5 separate regions of the Homo sapiens genome follow, and regions 1, 2, 3 and 5 are each linked to region 4. Evidence: promoter capture Hi-C in human tissues and cell types (Jung and others, 2019). All regions are on one chromosome and are shown on one strand. Each heading gives the region's core, a stretch centred on a gene start or on the middle of the fragment in contact. The rest is flanking DNA. Distances are from core to core; before and after follow the strand shown.

Evidence for each region. Contacts are between HindIII fragments. The study calls those that stand out against the background at their distance.
Region 1: a contact is called between a fragment that was not itself captured here and the fragment with the promoter of KCNU1 in region 4, in 1 of the 25 tissues and cell types used here (mesendoderm cells).
Region 2: a contact is called between a fragment that was not itself captured here and the fragment with the promoter of KCNU1 in region 4, in 1 of the 25 tissues and cell types used here (mesenchymal stem cells).
Region 3: a fragment that was not itself captured here is called in contact with the fragment with the promoter of KCNU1 in region 4 in 1 of the 25 tissues and cell types used here (heart right ventricle).
Region 5: a contact is called between a fragment that was not itself captured here and the fragment with the promoter of KCNU1 in region 4, in 1 of the 25 tissues and cell types used here (dorsolateral prefrontal cortex).

What each region holds. Positions count from the first base shown.
Region 1 is chr8:36,156,163-36,160,309 of GRCh38, forward strand. No RefSeq gene overlaps it. Among named protein-coding and RNA genes, the nearest start is that of KCNU1, 630 kb to the right of the region's middle. The HindIII fragment of the contact is 4,753 bases long and covers 1-3,988 here.
Region 2 is chr8:36,130,274-36,134,131 of GRCh38, forward strand. No RefSeq gene overlaps it. Among named protein-coding and RNA genes, the nearest start is that of KCNU1, 650 kb to the right of the region's middle. The HindIII fragment of the contact is 3,009 bases long and covers 1,077-3,858 here.
Region 3 is chr8:36,221,863-36,226,083 of GRCh38, forward strand. All of the region lies in intron 1 of LOC105379371 (a long non-coding RNA gene), which reads left to right. Among named protein-coding and RNA genes, the nearest start is that of KCNU1, 560 kb to the right of the region's middle. The HindIII fragment of the contact is 5,277 bases long and covers 1-4,221 here.
Region 4 is chr8:36,782,812-36,786,825 of GRCh38, forward strand. It overlaps KCNU1 (potassium calcium-activated channel subfamily U member 1), which reads left to right and starts at 1,563. Exons shown (of 27, transcript NM_001031836.3): 1 at 1,563-1,794. The coding sequence starts at 1,600. The HindIII fragment of the contact is 3,588 bases long and covers 1-2,113 here.
Region 5 is chr8:35,880,556-35,884,869 of GRCh38, forward strand. No RefSeq gene overlaps it. Among named protein-coding and RNA genes, the nearest start is that of UNC5D, 650 kb to the left of the region's middle. The HindIII fragment of the contact is 5,030 bases long and covers 1-4,186 here.

The DNA.
Region 1 (4,147 bases), core at 362-2,861, 630 kb before region 4:
ACACTTCCCAGGCAATTCTGATGCAGTCCATTTACACAAAGGCATTTGGAAACCACTGAAGTAGGCCTGAAGTGATTAAAAAGTAATGTTCCGAGTCACTATCTTTGTGATGGAATACAGGAAATTTTATGGACTGTAAATCGGAGAGAAGATCAATTTTCAGTTCCCATTGCCAGTAGGTATACAGATATAGATCTCTGAAAGAAAGTTTAAAACCACTTCCCGACATCATCACAGTACATAAAAGAAAGTAAAGGTAATATAAAGAACATAAAGGCCAGAAATAAGAATTCTGATCCTACAGGTAGAGCACTATCTCTCACCTGAGCTGTAGTAAGTTCTCCTGGAGGCTGAAAGCCATGCCTAGGAGTAACTAGAAAATATGAATAACTTTGTGTGATTACTAATTAAGTTTCTGAAATAAAAAGCAAACACTTCTGAGAAGACCAGATTTTGTCAAAGAAGAGCAATGTGCCTCACACAGAAGAAGGGCCACTCTAGACCCACACTGCTCCTGTGGCCACCCTATACCATTATAACCAGAGTTTCAGTGAAGAGGAAATAGAATATGATGCAAAGACCATAACTACTCTTTGTAAGTAATTATATATTTAGAAATCAATTTATAAGAGACCTCATTTCAAAATACAGGTCTGGTTATTTGCAATAAGTCAATTTATTGTCTTCACAGTTTCAAATTCTAGAAAAATCCTTGCTTGGTGGTGCTCTCTACCTATTGAATCAAGAGTCTGACACCCAGAAATGGCCAAAGAGGTCAATCGAAGTGATGTTTACCACATTCTCTCTAAATGAAACTTACTCTGCATGTGCCACTCATGAGGTGACACACTGAAGATGCCATCACCATCCAGAGGTCATAGGATGAGAACAAACATACTGGATGCACTGTGACAATGTGAGGCTGTGTTGAGAATATTCTACATCTTCTAAATATGGGAGTAATGTAAGTGACTCTGCCTCTCTGGGGAAGGAGGAGTGAGAAGATTCTTCCCGTATTTTTCTTCGTGAGAAGGGGAGTAGACATCGCCTCCTACTGCAAGTGCCATTCTTCTCCTTTTACAATGCCCAATACCGTGGCATTGTCCTAAGTAACACAGGGACTGTCACAAGCTCACTGTCTCCAGTATTGTCCTTACTTAAAGTGCCCATGGTCTCTCGTTCTCTCTCTTATTTTCCATTGTCTTTTCGCTCTCTTCTACACAATACCAACAGAAATACTTGGTCTATATTTTAGGTAGTACGTTCCACCCTTCACAAATAGGGGGTTATACTATACCTGTGAAGATCTTCATCCAAGACTTTACAGGATGCTGTAGAGGAAGACATTGAGAGGAAATCAGGTCATAATAAATATCCCCAGCTCATATGTTAAAGCAGCAGATTACCTGGGAATCAGCCCTACTAGAAAGCTGCTGTTTTGGCTACCCATCTATTCTATCTAGCTGCAACACATGGATTAAGAAGACACTTTTCAAGGAGGTTTTTTTATTGCTGCCAAACAAAAATATTCAGTTTGGAGTTACATGTTCTTGCAACTCATTTATACCATTGATAAATCAATCTCATTGATGATGCTCTGGTGCCTCCTGCTTCATATAGCTAGGAATCTCTAAATTTAACATCACAAACTCAAATATCTACAGGCATCAAGTAAACCATGTAAATGAGCAAAGCAGAAAGGTGGCAGTTATGAGTAAGAATGGGAAGTGTGGCAAACAGAAAGTAGCCACCCCACTTGAAGAGGCAGCAGCTACATCGTTTCATGGTTTGCCATGATTTTGCATGGTAAATCAGCTGTCTTCTATTTAAAAAAAAGAAAAAGAAAAGAAAATAAAACAGAGAAACTCAGACTTTTATGTTAGATACTCAGAATATGAAATATTTAAACCCAAATTAAAAAAGAAAAACCCCCACCACACTAATATAAGACAAATAAAAACAAAATAAAACACAACCCCAAGCTAAGATATCCAGCCTGAATTCAGCCTATACCTGCACATTTACAGCTGCTCTTCTGTATTAATTCATTTGATTCTTGACCCACCTGGACGTCTTTTTACCAGATAGGGCCTGAGTACGTTCCCTGCCAGTAAGTCTTCTCTGCCTGACACCCGTGTTATAGCCCCTGCTCCAAAAGTGTGAATTTGCAGAGCCAAGTTCCCCTTCTTGTTCATTCTCAGAGTTCCAGAATCAGAAAAAAATGTTTTTCAAATTAGAGTTTGACTCTTAAGGAAAACTGTCATTTTCATAATGTGAGCCATGGAATGTCAATTTCAAATTTGTTCGATTTTCAGATTTTCATATTGGACCCGGCACAGAGTAGAAAGTTTTTAGATTAGCTTTGAGAGTGTGAGCAAATCCTTGATGAAGAGTCTGACAGAAGCATCTTCTAATCTTGTCTCTGACACTTCTTAGCAGCAAGAACTTGTTAAAGTCCCTCAGATTCATTTCGTTTTCATTTTCTCATATGCAAAATGGAGATACTAATAGAAGATTGTTATATGGATTAAATAGGACAGAATATAAGATAGTACCAAGAAAATCACTAAGTGCTGTTGAAACACAGGACATGATTATGATTGATGCTTTTAATATTTAAATCTAAGCTTGTCTTAGAATTTCTTTTGTTTTATTGACATTCCCGTTTTCCTTTTTTATCTCATAAAATGGAATTAAGAAAAGGTCATGTATAAAAATGAAAAAGCTAATTTGCAAAACAGGGTCAGATTTTAATTAAATATATTGACCTGATGCAATAGTTTCTTCAAAATTTCATTTGTAAAATACTTACTGAGTGTGTACTATGGACCAGACATTGTTTTAAGTACTGGGTATATAGGGATGAAAAATCTAGGCAAAGAGCCTACCTCATGGGACTTATATTTTTAATTAGGAAGACAGATCATAAATATGTAAACAAATAGATACACAATTCAATGTAGTTTACGTGTTTTAAGGTATAATAAAGCAGAATATGAAAATAGAAAGTGACAATAGAGAGAGAGGAGCTCTTTTGAGTAGCACAATTAGAGAAAGCCTCTCAGAGCTAGTGATGTTTGAACAGACATATGACTGGACTGCAGGAATTCACCATGCAGGTCCTTCGAAGAGAAGTGTTTCAGGCAGAGGAAGGAACAAGTACAAATTATCAAAAGCAAGAATAAGTTTGGTATAGCTAATGAATAGGAAAATAACCCCACTGTTGCTAGAACAAAGTGAGAGGAGAGGATAAAGAGTTAGGGGATAAGATATTCTCATTCTTATAGCTGGGAAGGGCTGGATCATGTAGAGTCCTACGATCACAGTACGGATCGCGGTCAAACTTTGTTCTGAATATCACTCAAGTTTGAGCTGGAGCAACATTACTTCAGCTGCTAAGCATAAGGGAATTGGTTTTAGGGGGACAAAAGTGAAAGAAGGGAGAGCAGTCTAGGAGATACATAATACCAGTCATAACCAGAGTAGTAGTGGTGTAGGCAGGGTGAAGCAATCAGATTAAGGATATACTGCATTGTGAAGGTGGCACCAATAGGACTTGCTGATGGGGTATATGTAGGAGTGAAGGAAAAGGAGGTATCACAGGTGATTTATCAATGTGGGGTCTGAGTTACCAGGTTAATGCTACTGCCATTTAGTATGATTTAGGGAGAGACTATGGAAAAAGCAGATATAATAGACATGGAGAGTGAAATGAGAAAATGCATTTTAGATGTATAGCATAGCAAGTTTGAGATTTCTGGCTGGGCATGGTGGCTCATGGCTGTAATCCCAGCACTTTGAGAGGCCGAGGCAGGCAGATGACTTGAGGTCACGAGTTCGAGACCAGCCTGGCCAACATGGTGAAACCCTGTCTCCACTAAAAACACACACACACACACACACACAAAATTAGCCAGGCGTGGTGGTGCGTGCCTGTAATCCCAGCTACTAAGGAAGCTGAGGCAAGAGAATCACTTGAACTCGGGAGGCAGGGGTTGCAGTAAGCCGAGATCACACCACTGCACTCCAGCCTGGTCAACAGAGCAAGACTCCATCTCAAAAAATAAATAAATAAAAAGATTCCTGGTAGACATCAAGAAAATATATCAGGTTGGAAGCTGAATGCTTGCATCTGGAGTAAGGCCAG
Region 2 (3,858 bases), core at 1,331-3,830, 650 kb before region 4:
AAGGCACATCTGCTAGTGACAAATTATTTTAATCTTTCTATCATTTAAAAGCTTAATTTCCCCTACATTTCTAAAGGATATTTCACAGGATTTGGAATTCTATACTTAAAATTCTTAAAGGACTTGGAAAATGTTGTGGCACTTCCTCATGGTCTTCATAATTTTTGATGAGAAATTTTTTGTCATTTGGATAGTTTTTCCCTCCTTATAGATAAGGTGTTATTTTTTACTTTGCTATTTTTACAACTTTTTGTTGGTCTTTAGTTTTCAGAAATGTACTTATGATACATTTGTTTTTCTGTAGATTGTTTGGGCTACATTCCGTGTAGGGTTTTCTCAGCCTCTTAGGTCAATGTCTTTTGTCAAATTTGGTAATTTTCAGTTAGTATTTATTTGCATAATTTTTCATCCTTGCCCTCATTTTCCTCTCCTTCTGAGACTCTGATGACATGAGTGTTAAATATTTGTTATAGATGAACATGTTCCTGATGTTCCATTCATTTATTCCTTTCAGAGTAATTTTTCTATGGTGTTTGGATTGGGTAATTTCTATTGTTCTATAATGAAGTTTACTAATTCTTTCTTCTGGCCTCTCCATCCTGCTATTGAGTCCTTCTGCTATGGACTGAATTGTGTCCTCCAACCCCAAATTTGTATGTTGCAACTTTAACCCCCAATGCTGTAGTATTTGCAGCTGAAGCCTTTAGGAGTTAATTAAATTTGGATGACTTCATCAGGTAGGACCTTTATGATGAGATTAGCACCCTTAGAAGAAAAGGAAAAGTAAGTGAGATTGATTTCCCACTCCCTGTTATGCAAATGAGAACAGGCCAGGTGAGCACACAGGGAGAGGTGGCCATCTGCAAGTCAGAAAGACAGCACTCACCAAAACCTAACCATGCTGGCACCAACCTTGAACTTCCAGATTGCAGAATTATGAGAATACACATTTTTGTTGTTTAAGCCACTCAATATGTGGTAATTTATTTTGGCAGATTGAGCTAAACAAGGCACTTTCCATTGAGCTTTTAAAATTTTGTTTATTGTATTTTTCAGTTCTAAAATTTTCATATACATAATGTGTATATATACATAAATATAATGTATATATATGTAATATAATTTATATATAATATATATATATTTCTTTGCTGTAACCTTCTATTTCCTTGCCAAGACTTTCTACTATTTTGTTTCAAGTATGTTTGTAGTTGCTTGTTGAAGCATTTTTATGATGACTACTTTAAAATCTCTGTCAGATAATTCTAACATCTCTGTCATCTAGGTGATGGCATCTATTGATTTTCCCTTTTTTGTAAGTTGATATTTTCCTGGTTCTTGGTACAAGTGATTTTTAAAATTGAGAACTGGAAATTTGAGGTAGTATATTATGAAATTCTGAATCTTATTTAAACCCTCTATTTTAACTGGTTCCCTTTGACACTGCTTCAACAGTGAGAGCCTGGGAGTGCTGAATTGTTACTGTCAGGTGGGAGTAGAAGCCCAGTTTCACATTGGCCTCCACTGAATCCAGTGAGGGGGAGAGCTTCTCATTACTGTTGGGTGGAGGAGGAGTTCTGGCTTTCCTCTGGGCCTCTACTGATAACACCCAGGCTGAGGCAAGTACTTGTTACTGTTCCTCATGTAGTCTCCACTGAAATCACAGAGGGATGACCTTAATACTAATGGCTAGTCATGAAAAACTTGACTCTCTGCTAGATATCCTCTGATACCACTTCAGTGGGGAGGAGAAGGGCCCTCTCCTGTTTTGATTTTCAGTTGGCTGGAAGTCCAGGCAACCTATGTAGTCTCTAATGACACCACAGGGAACATCTTGTTATGGCCCAACAGTGCTGGAAGTCCTAACTCCCTACTTGGCTTTCTTGGGCCTCGTGCTAGGAGAGTTGCTGGGGCACCTTGCAACAGTGTCATTAGCATGGGATTCTGTGTTTGCCCTTGGTTTTTGATGATGTGGGTGGGGAGTTGTCTGTATTTATTTTTATGATGTTTGGTTGAAATAGAGAATTTACAGTTTAAAAGTTTTTTTTTTTTTTGTATTTTTATGTTACCCCTTCCTGATCCTTTGGCTAGAGAGAACAAGCTTTCGTTGAGGTTTTCCATTCCTCATACACTGTTTCTGGGACACTGGCTTTTCAGCTACCAGTTTGGGATATATGATGGAAACAGAAAACCTACAAAACTCACCACCATGTTGTTCCTTGCTGACATCCCTATCCAGTCTGCCTTCTTCTCTCCATCTTTTAGAGTCTTCTTATGTTTGTTTTATATATAATGTCTAGAGTTTTTAAATTGTGCTTAGTGGGAAGAATAGGGAAATTATATCTACTCTATCTTATGAGAAGTGGAAGTGATGATAATCTTACATATCTCTAAATCTTCCCACCAGTATGGTTATGATCTCTTTCTCCTTCTCATCTCTTCTCCCAACTTTGTTAATAAAAAACGTTTGCTGATCAAATTACCATCTTTTGATTCAATTCGATTAATTATTTAACATACTCTATTTCCCGTAGGCATAAACAACTTTCCTACCTAAGACAACTGTGTTTAGTGAGGAGTACATTCATCTAATAACTAACACTCTTTTTTTTTTTTTTTTTTTTTTGATATGCAGTCTCGTTCTGTTGCCCAGGCTGGAGTGCAGTGGTGTGATCTCAGCTCATTGCAAGCTGAGCTTGCATTGAGGCATTGCAAGCCTCCTGGGTTCACGCCATTCTCCTGCCTCAGCCTCTTGAGTAGCTGGGATTACAGGTGCATGCCACCATGCCCGGCTAATTTTTTTGTATTTTTAGTAGGGAAGGGGTTTCACTGTGTTAGCCAGGATGGTCTTGATCCCCTGACCTCGTGATCCATCTGCCTCGGCCTCCCAAAGTGCTGGGATTACAGGCGTGAGCCACCGCGCCCAGCCATAACTAACACTCTTTATGGCTGTATTCCATGGTTCTTGGCATTTCACTATCAAACTCAGGAAAATCCATAAAACTCTCTTGACTGATTGGGGTTGGGGTGGGGGATAAATGCAAGAGTCATGTATTATAATAAGCTTTGAAATATGAAGATGGAAGCCACAATAGCAAAATTAAATAGAAAAAGTTGTTATAATTTCTGGTATACTTAGTATTAATGTTCTCTGGTTCTTTTGACATGATTGAAATATGTCAATAGGGACTATCCTCCATATTCATAGTCATCTCCTTATTGACAGACACAAGGAGACATGGTGAAGAATACAAAGTCATCCTTCATGCTTCTTCTTTTCCTAGAGTAGGTGACAGCTGAGCACTACTTAGAAGGAACATCGTAGCTAATTTTGACAAATTTCTCTGAAAGTTTATCTTGGAATTGAAAGCCATAGTATAATAGCATCTTCATTTTCACTGTCTCCACCTCTCCTCCAAACCACATCACATTTCTTTGATAATGTAGAAAATGTTGGCTGATTCACAGAGTTTCCTACAAATGACAGATTGCTTTCTGAGATACTATAATTCTGACAGAGAAATAATTACAGAGGATGCCTGAGTCTCTCATTTCTTCTCTTTCTCTCTGCTTTCCAAGTCAATAGACCAGAGAGCCTGTGTCCCTGGAGTCTGCAATGCAGAGGTCCTCACCTCATAGACTTTTAAGCCAAGATCAGAACTTCTATTTCTGAGTAGAAATATCATGTCTTCACCACATGTGTTTCTGCACCTTTGTCTAAATAGAGTTTCAAATATTTGGTGAAGATGAGATTGTAAGCAAATTCCTGATGCTATCTTCAGTGTCTCTGAGAGGTAGAAAAATATATTTTTTTAATTTTTAAGTAAATATAAAATTATAAAATATAGAAATTTAAGT
Region 3 (4,221 bases), core at 682-3,181, 560 kb before region 4:
GTGAGGACGACCAGAGGTCACTCTTGTGGACATCTTGGTTTTGGTGGGTGTTAGCAGGCTTCTTTCAGCAAGGTCTTTATGACCTGTATCTTGTGCTGACCTCCTATCTCACCCTGTGACTTATAATGCATTAACCGTCTGAGAATGCAGCCCAGTAGGTTTCAGCCTCATTTTACTCAGCTCATATTCAAGATGGAGTTGCTGTGGTTCAAATGCCTCTGACAATATTGCAGGAAGAAAGACTGAGGTCTGTCAACACACCTGGACAGACTTTTGTCACAAGCCATTGTCTGCTGTTTGAGTCCAACAGGCTTTGCCCCAGGTCATTGTATGTTCTTCAAGCCTGTTGAATTTCCCTAAAAATTATTTACTATCTCCTAAAATCATTCAAATTTTCCATTTCCCTTTCCCTGAGAAATGGGTTATATAATCATCTATACCCATAGTGTGGTGGCACTATCACTCTGCCCCATGCACACTAACAAATTTGTGTGCCATTTCTCCTATTAATCTGCCTTTTGTGTGTTGATTTTTCAGCAAACCATCAGTGGTGAAGGGGAAGTTTTCCCTTGGCCCCTATGCTATATATAGATAAGTAGTTATATTATTTAGATAAGACATTAAAGGGAACTTTCTATTCTAAAGTAAAAGCTTTGTAACAAAGATTTTTCTCTGAATCATATTTATATAAATTTCATAAAGTAAAAAAAAGGAAATGTTCGCCTGTAGATTGCTGTTTAATGGACAGCTGAAACGAGGTGCTCTGTGGACATTAGTTCAGACTTGGAGGCTTGGAATCAGTTCTTTGTAACTGGCTTGGTCTCATTCCTGAGGATGACGGAGCTTCTTCCCATGACCATGCACAGATGACATCAGCACTCAGAATCTCATTCACAATGAAACCCATCTGCAGGGAGCCACCTTTACCCCGAGTATGGATTTCAGCTTTGCTTCTATTTAATCGTGAGTGACCTTGAGTCCATTACTTGGCCTCTATCATTCTCAGTTTCATGATTTGAAAAAGGAGGGGTCAAAATGAAAAATCATAGGTCTTTTTAAAACTGAGGGCTAACCTGATTGGGCCCGCCAATGTTAACTTTTCTCCCTTGTTTTTTAGTCACTTGCTTTTAGTTTATTTTAAAACCCATAGACCTAAAAGTCATGAAGCTAAGCAATATATAACTAACCTTGCACTGGCTTCCTTATAGGTAATATCTCTGGTGTATAGGTCACCACAGTAACAGTTGCTTAAGTTGTTTTGTGGGAACTTAGAGTCCATTTTTGTTTAGCTCGAGCTGGCTGAGACCTTTTGACTGGCCTGCATTAATCTCTGATGGGTGACCCTTTGATGTCAGAGGGCAAAAATCTCCACCCTTAGATCATGCTAATGATGCCATTTTGTGAACATGCATCCCATGGAGAGCCATGAAACTTGACTGTGCTTGTGCAGATCACCAATTGACTCATTTTTCCTTACCCCCAAACACCTTTCACTATGCCTTGGACCACCTTGCTTCTGTATCCCATAAATATCCCTAAAACTCCATCTTCAGGGAGGTTGATTTGAGATCTTTTCTCCTATCTCCTTGCTTGGCTGCCTTGTAAATAACCCTTTCTCTGTACAAAACTCATCTTCTCAGTAATTGGCACACTTCACAACAGACAGAACGAGCCTGGCTCAGTAAATTTTCAATTGCTAATCTGACAGAAGTATAGACATTAAGGAATTGCATAATGTAAACACCTAGATCACACAGATACATAAGATAGAGAAAATAACTGGCTGGGCACAGTGGCTCACTCCTGTAATCCCAGCACTTTGGGAGGCTGAGCTGGGAGGGTCATTTGAGGTCAGGAGTTTGAGACCAGCCTGACCAACACGGAGAAACCCAGTCTCTACTAAAAATACAAAAAAATTAGCTGGATGTGGTGGTGCATGCCTGTAGTCCCAGCTACTTGGGAGGCTGAGGAAGGAGAATCACTTGAACCCAGGAGGTGGAGGTTGCAGTGAGCCGAGATTGCACCACTCCACTCCAACCTGGGTGACAGAATGAGACTCTGCCTCAAAAAAAAAAAAAATTATTTGCCATGTCATTAAGACACACTCAGTCACTACTTCATTCAGTCCTCGTGAGTCAACACACACTTGTGAAGTATGTATTAGACTAATGACAAGAGATAAACAAATAGGGGTCTTTGCTTCCATGATGGCCTCCCTACCTCCCTATCAGAAGTCCATCAGAGAAACACCATTTTAATCTGTGCCATGGCCAGATTATTTGTTCTAAATTCTGGCTCATCAGATAATACACATGAAGAAACTTTTGGGCAGCCAGTTATCTTGTTGGGATTAGGAATGTTGTTTATTGTTAATGGAAATTAAAAATAAATTTTTAGTTCTTGTTCAACTACCTTGAAAAGTATACCCATAGCAATCTTTGCTGTTCTGCAGCCTTCACTGGTGATACCCTGGTGAACAGGGTCTAGAGTGGACCTCCAGCAAACTGCAACAGACTTGCAGAAGAGGGCCCTGACTGTTAGAAGAAAAACTAACAAACAGAAAGCAACAACAACAACAAAAAAGACCCCCCGCAAAAACCCCATCCAAAGGTCATCAGCCTCAAAGATCAAAGGTAGATAAATCCATGAAGATGAGGAAACAACAGTGCAAAAACGCTGAAAATTCCCAAAGCCTGATGCCTCTTGTTCTCCAAATGATTGCAACACCTCTCCAGCAAGGGCACAAATTTGGACAGAGGATGAGATTGATGAATTGATAGAATTAGGCTTCAGAAGGTGGGTAATAAAAAACTCATCTGAGCTAAAGAAGCATATTCTAACCCAATACAAGGAAGCTAAGAACCTGGATAAAAGGCTACAGGCACTGCTAACTAGAATAACCCATTTAGAGAGGAATATAAATGACCTGATGGAGCTGAAAAACACAGCACAAGAACTTCATGAAACACACCCAAGTATCAATAGCTGAATCAATCAAGCAGAAGAAAGGATATCAGAGATTGAAGACCACCTTGCTGGAATAAGGCATACAGACAAGATTAGAGGAAAAAGAATGCAAAACAATGAATGTAGCCTACAAGATATATGGGACTATGTGAAAAGACCAAACCTGTGATTGATTGTTATACCTGAAAGTGACGGGGAGAATGGAACCAAGCTGGAAAACACACTTCAGGATATTATCCATGAGAACTTCCCCAACCTAGGAAGACAGGCCAACATTCACATTCAGGAGATACAGAGAACACCACTAAGATACCCTACAAGAAGATCAACCCCAAGACACATAATCATCAGATTCTCCAAGGTCAAAATGAAAGAAAAAATGTTAAAGGTAGCCAGAGAGAAAGGTCAGGTCACCTAAAAAGGAAGCCCATCAGACTAACAGTGGATCTTTCCAGAGAAACCCTACAAACCAGAAGAGAGTGGGGGCCAATATTCAACATTTTTAAAGAAAACAATTTTTGACCAGAATTTCATATCCAGCCAAACTAAGCTTCATAAGAGAAGGAGAAATAAAATCATTTCCAGACAAGCAAATGCTAAAGGATTTAATCACCACCAGGCCTGACTTACAAGAGCTCCTGAAGGAAGCACTAAATATGGAAAGGAAAAACTGGTACCAGCCACTGCAAAAACACACCAAAACATAACGACCATCAAGACAAGCCTGGACAACATGGTGAAACCCCGTCTCTACTAAAAATGCAAAAGTTATCTGGGCATGGAGGCAGGCAACTGTAATCCCAGCTACTTGGGAGGCCGAGGCAGGAGAATTGCTTGAACCTGAGAGGCAGAGGTTGTAGTGAGCTGAGATTGTGCCATTGCACTCAAGCCTGTGCAACAAGAGCAAAACTCCCTCTCAAAAAAAAAAAAAAAAAAAAAGACTGATGACACTATGAAGAAACTACGTCAACTAGTGTGCAAAATAACCAACTATCATCATGATGGCAGAATCAGATTCATACATAACAGTATTAATCTTAAATGTAAATGGACTAAATGACCCAATTAAAAGAGAAAGACTGGCAAATTGGATAAACAGTCAAGACCCATTGGTGTGCTGTATTCAGGAGACCAATCTTATATGCAAAGACAAACATAGGCTCAAAATAAGGGATGGAGGAATATTTACCAAGCAAATGGAAAGCAGAAAAAAGCAGAAGTGGCAATCCTAGTCTCTGAAAAAACAGACTTTTA
Region 4 (4,014 bases), core at 313-2,812:
GCTACAGTTATCTTCTGAAACAGCCTGCCAAACAGTGTGGAGTCATGGCGGGCTCCCAAGGACAGCGTGATGATTCCTCTTGGGCCTCTTCACCTGGTGTCAGGTTATCTTGGTAATAACTGGGGTGAACTAGGCCCTCCACTGGGCTCTGACATTTTGCCTGCCACTTGTGCACACTGAAAGGCATGACATTTCTTACACCTTTGAAAACATCAGGGAAAATCAAAGAAATTTCTCTCATTCTGAACTTTACCTCTGCTGGGCCAAAAGGTTTGCTGCCAGGGCAGTAATAAAAGCAAGAAAGGGGAGAGTTCCATAAAGAAGAGATAAGTGGAATGGATTTATGGGCTGAAATAACAATCAACCAATGACCACACTAGTTAAATTGTCTTCTTCAATACCTGCACTCTATACTATGCCTTTCTTATGTAAAGAATAAACAAAACCTTTTTTTTTCTGTTTCAAGATAATCTTGATTTTCATTGTGTGTAATTAAGGAGTACAACGTGATATTCTTTGGATTGATGCACAGCAGATACACATATTTTCAAGTCACGTGATAATTTAATACATTCACATAATTTGTGTACTTGGGATATCAATCAACTTACATATTTGTATTTTCTTTGTGCTAGAAACATTCAAATTTTTCTCTTCTAGCTATTTTTAAATGTACAATAGATTATCATAAGCTATAGTCACTTCACTGATCTATAGAACATTAGATGTTATTTCTTCTATCAAACCAAATATTTGTACCCATTAATCAACTTCTCTTTATCCAACTTCTTTCCTCAGCCACCCTTCCCGGCATCTCGTAACCATGAATCTACTCTCTATCTTTATGAGATCCACTGTTTTAGCTTCCGCATACAAGTACAAACGCAAAATGCTCTTTTGATAAACTTATGCATAGTGAAGCAGTGACTACAGTCAAGCAAATTCATATATCTATCATCTCACAGAGTTAATCATCTTTTGTGTGCGTGTAACAAGAGCCCTTAAAATCTACTCTTTTAGCAAAAATCCTGAATACAAATAATTTTATTAATTATGTTCTTTGTTCTGCACACTAGATCTTCTAGACTTATTCATTCTGCATATCTGCTCCTTTGTATAAAGGATAAACAAAAACTTTAAAGTACTTCTCTCTTCTGTCCTTCCAAGCCTACTAAGCACGTGGCATCCTCCCAGATAGAGAACCAACTCATTCACACACATAGTTGGCTGTTGTTTCACTCCGAAAGAGTTGATTTGAAATTATTTGACTGCATTAACTGAACTGATAACCAGCTGATCATTGCTACAGATAATGGGATTTCTTCAAGGCATAGAGAAAGTCGTAACAATCCGATCTAGAATTATGATTTTTTTGACTATTCATATTGTAGGCCCCAGCCATCTCCAGTTGTGTATTCATTCACAACCCATGAGCTGGCACCGGGGGATTGGCAGACCCTTGTTCCTGGAACTTCTCACTGGTTATCACGCCTAATGTTGGAACACTGTGGTACAGTGAACTCTGATTCCTGGAATTGTTACCAGGCGACCACGGCGTCATCAAATGACCTGGCAATTCCGTCTACTGATGTCTCGAACATGTTTCAGACTAAGCTACGAAATGAAACTTGGGAAGACTTGCCAAAAATGTCCTGCACAACTGAGATCCAAGCAGCATTCATTCTCTCTTCCTTTGTGACCTTCTTCAGTGGACTCATCATCCTGTTGATCTTCAGGCTGATCTGGAGATCTGTTAAAAAATGGCAAATCATCAAGGGAACAGGAATTATCTTGGTCAGTTTCCTTGTTAGGGATCCCTCTGTGTGAAGTCAGAGATGAGTTTGGGGTAGTTTTGTGTTTAGTAAAAGATCTAAGCTTCATTCAGTTTTTCAAGCTAACAGAGTCAGCTTCTATAGCCTGGTGCCTCAGAAAGGGTGGTAAGCCAGACCTCAGGCCACATTCTGAGGCCTGAAGAGACAGGGCCAAGCCTCTTCTCTCTCCCATCACTGGAAAAAGCAATGTCTTGTATGGATAATGATTAATGTTAGCTCTGGAAACAGAGGTCACTGTTCTGAAAAAAAGTTCATAAACATTATGTCCATGCCTCTATCTCGAATTTTAACAAGACAATTGTGCTAGGTCATAGAAAGGAGGTGAAAGGGAACAAGACATCAACATCAACCTTGCTTTCATAAATTGTTCATGCATAATGCATATGTACTGACGTGTACATTGCCTTTTGTATACCATATGAAGACAACACATTGAGTTGCACATACACAGAGAAGCCCATGCATACATGCCTGTGCCATCCAGGCATAGATGCAAGGACATTTCTTATACCCAAACAAGCTTAGCAGGAGTTGATGTTGTTGAATAACAGCTGGCAAATGATGATGATGAGAATAAATGATGTATTATACAGATAAGGCATTGCTTAAGAGCTTGAAATAAAGCTCTCAAATGCTGTGTAATGGATGTTCTATTACCAGAGGTCAAAGGTGAAGAGTTTTACTATACCCTGTGTAGTTTGTTTCCAATTTTGCTTCCCAAACTTTCTTTCTCTGATAGATTATAGCAATTTCCATAACACAACACATTTCACCTGTGCATCATAATATTGAAAATTTGCTTAAAACATTTCTTTTAGTGCTAAAACCTACATAAAATATAATTCATAAATTGATAAGTTTTTAAAGTTATTGGTAATATGGAATTTTGTTTTCCATATTTGAAAATTATCCAATACTGAAGCTTATAGATTTTGTTCCTAAACAAGTTTATTCTATTGATTATTTCTACATTATGGATTTTAAGCTGTGGCACAATAATTGGAGAAAGAATTCTGGGATACTGACATATGGGTAAATAGCTATGATGGATCTGCCTCCTTGTTTCTACCTTGTTTTGTTGTTGTTAATGCACAACTGAATTTGTAGGATTTTTAAATCTTCTTAGTCTTCTGCTCCAGGCAATGTTCTTCTTCTCCATTATGTTCATTTTGTGTGATTACAAAAATGTGACAGTACATTTGTCAATTTCCTATATTTTTCATTTCTTACTTTGGGTGTAATTTATGTCTACACTTCGATCCAGGTATACCCTTTAATTACAAATATTTAGCAAATGTTACAAAATGTTAAGAAGTGAGCCTGAGCAACCAGAATGCTGTACCATTCTGCTTTTGAATCTTGAGGAAAGAGTTTGATCAAGTTGAGTTACTTTTCAATGATTTGTTTTATTACATCAAATTAAGAGTGACCTGTTTTTCTCTAAGCCTTTGGAGAAGTTGGACAAATGCAAAAAAAAAAAAAAATCAGAAATCTAGGTGTACTGTGAAGAGTTATTTTAAAAATTATTTGGAGAGTTACAATTTCTCTCCTTAAATGTGCATTTAAAACATGTATTACATCTATAAATATGAGTTTATTATATCTTAGGACCAATTTGTTTTTCCACAGAAGGTAGCTCCAATTTTATGATGGAATTCAAATGAGTATTCTATATTAATGTCATACCTAGGATTTTTTAAAATTAATTCTCAGACAACATTTAGAAACCGACATGAGTCATGTTTATTAGAGGGCAAATCATTGATCAGGATGTGAACTTTTATCAAAGAGTTTTTTAATGAGACTTCCCTTTTTATCATTCAGAAAATATGAGTAGAAAAATTAAGTGATTTTGAAATCCTGGCTTCATATAAAATGAGCTTTTTTGAAAGTCAGAGGGACTCATCTAGCTTGGTGTGGGTAGTCCTAGTTGGTTTGTGTATTTCTTTGTGGTGGTTCTAGACTATTATCAACAAACAATGAATGCCAGCTCAGGCCCCAGCCTTTCCTCATTGCCTGATATTAGGAAAGTCATTTAATTTCTCTATACCTTGGTATCCACATCAATATAAAATGTATTTAGTCATGCCTAACTTTATCATATGAGATTACCGTAACATTTAAATATAATAAGTAAAGACATTCTATAAATGTGAGGAAGGATTATAATTTCAGAATATAA
Region 5 (4,314 bases), core at 422-2,921, 900 kb before region 4:
CCAGAAGTGTAAGGGCAGGCATGCTGAGCTTTATTAGCCAAAACTGTCTACAATTTGCCCCCAGTTTTCACTCCCAACCTCATTTCTGAAAATTTCCACCACTCAAACCCTAAGTCAAACTGAACTGGATTTTTCTTTTACAAATGCCCATTTTCATTTGCTTCAACCTCTAACAGCATTTCCTTTCTCTACATTTTTTAAACCATAAGGAAATTATCTGGCCTCCAGTTTCTCAGAGAAAGAGAACCACAGGTGCAACCTCAACTTACCACTTCTAAATCACCAAACCCTATACATAGACCCATTTTCTCTTGCTTCTGATTTTTAAAATCTAAGGTCATGTTGTCCGGAGACTATCCTTTTTGCATTTCATGAAATATCATTCCTTGGTTATTTGCTCTTTCAATTGTATCTTAACCTTATCTTCCATATTACTGCTATCAGGATTATAACATGTTCAAATTTCACTCATTATAAAAGCCCATTAGTAGTAGACTGGATAAAGAAAATGTGGTACATATACACCATGGAACACTAAACAGCCATAAAAAAGAATGAGATTATTCCTTTGCAGCAACATGGATAGAGCTGGAGGCCAATTTCCTTAGCATACTAACTCAGGAATAGAAAACCAAATACTAATGAATACTAGGCTTAGTACCTGAGTGACAAAATAATTTGTACACCAAACCCCCATGACACACAGTTTACCTGTAAAACAAACCTTCCCATCTACCCCGGAACCTAGAATAAAAGTTATGATAAAAATACACTTCCTCAATCTCATTCTCCTGATAAGTATGACCTTCTTCTTAAATATAGTTAATATAGTACTTTTACAATAAGTAGATAATTATGAACTAGTTATTTAATGTTTTTCTTTCCTCTTAATAAAAGTGTTATGGAGTAGGTACTGAGGTTGTTTAACTCGCTACTGAATATCTAGTGCCTACCACAGTTTCTGACACATAGTAGGAGGTGGTCAATAAATTTTTGATCACTGATTAATATGTAAATGAATGAATGCATAAATAAATATATGAATAACGTTCTTTCTTTGGATCTTTGCTCATATTGTTCCTTCCCTGTAATCAGAATCCTCTTTCCTGCCTTATCTTTTTTTAATACAAATCTTACATATTAACTGTTGATATTAAAATAAAATGTACTATGTTGTCCACCTTCTCCCACACCAGAAGAATTCCCTGATGTCTTCAAGGAAAAATAGTTACTCCTTCCTCAGAACCCTTGTTATTAGAATCTTTTGGTAACTTACACTCTAGTAATTTGTGTGCATGACTTTTCTGCAGTGAAATACTGAGTGCTCACTCCAGTATAGGGACGTCATTGTGTCCTCCACAAGAACATGGCATTGCACAGAAAAAAATGCTTAATAAGTTTTGAGCTAATTGATTCATTCATTTGTTCATTCACTCAAGAATACCCACCAAGTACCTACCAAGGCCAGGGCTAGAAATAAAACGGTATATAAGGCATAGTCTCTGTCTTCACAGGGCTTTTCATAGGTGATACAGAAAAAGTAACAGGCAATTATGTTAGTGTGGTAAATATTATGGTAAATATAACTGCAGAACAAGGAGCACCTAAGATAGTCTTGTGTCTATAGGAGGCTTCTCAGAAGAAGGGATACTTGAGTTGAGTTCTAAAAGGTGGGTAGAAATCAGCCTAGGCTAAAGAAGAAGAAATAAAGCATATAAAAAGCTCCAAAGGTGTGTCAGAGTGAAGCCATTCCAGAAAGTTAACAACAATTCTAGCCAGAAATCATTATAACTAAGCACGAATTAGGCTGCACTTTGACCCACTTCCTTGTAACTGGAAGTCATATAACACTAGTTACAGAGCACATGCATCTTTATGGTTTCTATAGATAGGATCTCTGACATTAGAATCATAAGGTTTTTGTTTAATAAATGCTTAAGCAGATCCTGGATCCTGAATTCCAGTGAAGTAGGTGACACCAACCAGTTTGACCCTCCCCACCCCCAAAGGAACCAAATCAGCCTGAGAATGCAGGTTCTTCATCTCCCTGTCCCATGACTTTGCCCTGAACTCTTTGACCAATCAACATCTCCACACTTCAGCCCACTCCAAAATCCTTAAAAACCCTAGGCCCAAATGCCTTGGGGACACGGATTTGATATTTCCTCTCATGTCCTCATTTGGCAGACCTCCAATTAAATCTCTTTCTCTGATGCAACCTGGTGTCTTAGCATGTTGACTTGCCACATGCATCAGGAACAAACCTATTATGGTTAAAAGAACATGGCAAACTCAGGGAACAGAAAGGGTCAAGTATGGTGGGGACTAAATGGACACGTGGAGGAGGAGCCAGAGCTAAATCCTCAAAAGCATTCTAGCTTTATTGAAAAGGAAAGAGGAATCACTAAAGCAGAGAATTATATGACAGTGGGTTGGTGGCATAGAAAGTTCTTCACTGGAAAAATGACAACACAAAAAATGGTCAAAACCAAAAAAAAAGACAGGAACTTCCATGGGAGAATATGACAGTTAAACCCTCTCATCTTGGATTTCTCACTCTAGGTATATATTTTCTAGGATTTTACATTCACCCTGATAGTAATGTGTATTGTGTATTATGTCCTTTGGTCATTTTTTTTCTGTAAGACTTTAATAGTCTTCTCAGGTTGTTTAAAATTAATGAGGCAAATGTCCTCAATCAAGAAGCAATTTAAGAACATGCTGCTAATTTCAATGAGTTCTGTAAATGAACTAATTTAATACCAGTTGACCCTTTTATTTGGGGAGAATGATTTGTAGCTATATTTTCTTGATTTGTGCCTATAAGCCTTGGCAGTTTGAATGGGCATTTTGAGCCCAGGGGTAAACATTAATTATGGTACAAGGATGGTGTTCTTGTAAGGGGGGCATAGAACATTCCCCTCAGTAAATAAGTGGACAGTATTTTTTTAACAGGAATGTCTTGACCATGTTTATTAAAACTGAAAGCCATAGAATAAACAACACTGATATAGTTTGGATGTTTGTCCCCTCCAAATTTCATATTGAAATGTGATCCCCAGAGTTGGAAGTGTTGCCTAGTAGAAGGTGTTTGGGTCATGAGTGTGGATCCCTCACGAATGGGTTGGTGTCCTACCCACTGTAATGAGTGAATTCTCATTCTCACTTTATTAGTTACTGCAAGACCTGTTTGTTGAAAAGAGCCTGGAATCTCTCTTGCTCTTTCTCTTGCTATGCGACATGCTATATGACATGTACCAACTTCACCTTCTGCCATGAGTGGAAGCTTCCTGAGGCCTCACCAGAACCCAAGAAGGTATTGGTGCCCTGCTTCTTATACAGCCTGCAGAACTGTGAGGCAAATAAACCTCTTTTCTTTATAAACTACCTAGTCTCAGGTATTCCTTTACAGCAATGCAAAACGAATGAACACAAATACTATTCTTTTTTTTTTGACATGGAGTCTCGCATTGTTGCCCAGGCTGGAGTGCAGTGGTGTGATATCGGCTCACTGCAAGCTCCACCTCCTGGATTCACGCCATACTCCTGCCTCAGCCTCCCAAGTAGCTGAGACTACAGGCGCCTGCCACCACACTTGGCTAATTTTTTGTTTTTTTAGTAGAGACGGGGTTTCACCATGTTAGCCAGGATGGTCTTGATCTTCTGACCTCGTGGTCCACCCACCTCAGCCTCCCAAAGTGCTGGGATTACAGGCATGAGCCACCATGCCTGGCCCACAAATGCTATTCTTCTTTGGTGACATAGACCAAGTAGGTGCATGCTAATTAATATTATGAAATTTTGCTATCCTATTCTTTTTTATTTTTTAAACCTCTTTAGAGGTGAGATTGTACCAACTGTTTTTAAAATTTATTTATTACCGAAAAGGAAAATCTCACTTCCTGAGTAAAACTGATGCATGCTTAATGATATTTTAATGATCTTGCCATTTCTTCTGCCTTTTACCACTTCATCCAGTGAAGAATCAATATTTTGGTAGCATTTTCTTGAACATCATGCTGTCAATAGGAATGTATCTTTTACTGATGATCTCCTAGGAAGGGTTTTGCTTTAAACCAGCAAATCCACAGGTCTACAAGCAATGAGAACATTTTACAATGCTGTCATATCAATAAAAGGATAAAATATGATTTCTGCCACTGAAGCAGTTTCCATTTAATAGGAAACTATTGTTCTAAGTATGGTTTAGCATTGTTCAATCAAGGCTGAATCAGCATCTTTCAAGAGCCTAGTAAACTCAATCTTCTCTGAAAACAGAGGGGAAGGAGAATGGAACTGATAAAATCAGAGTAG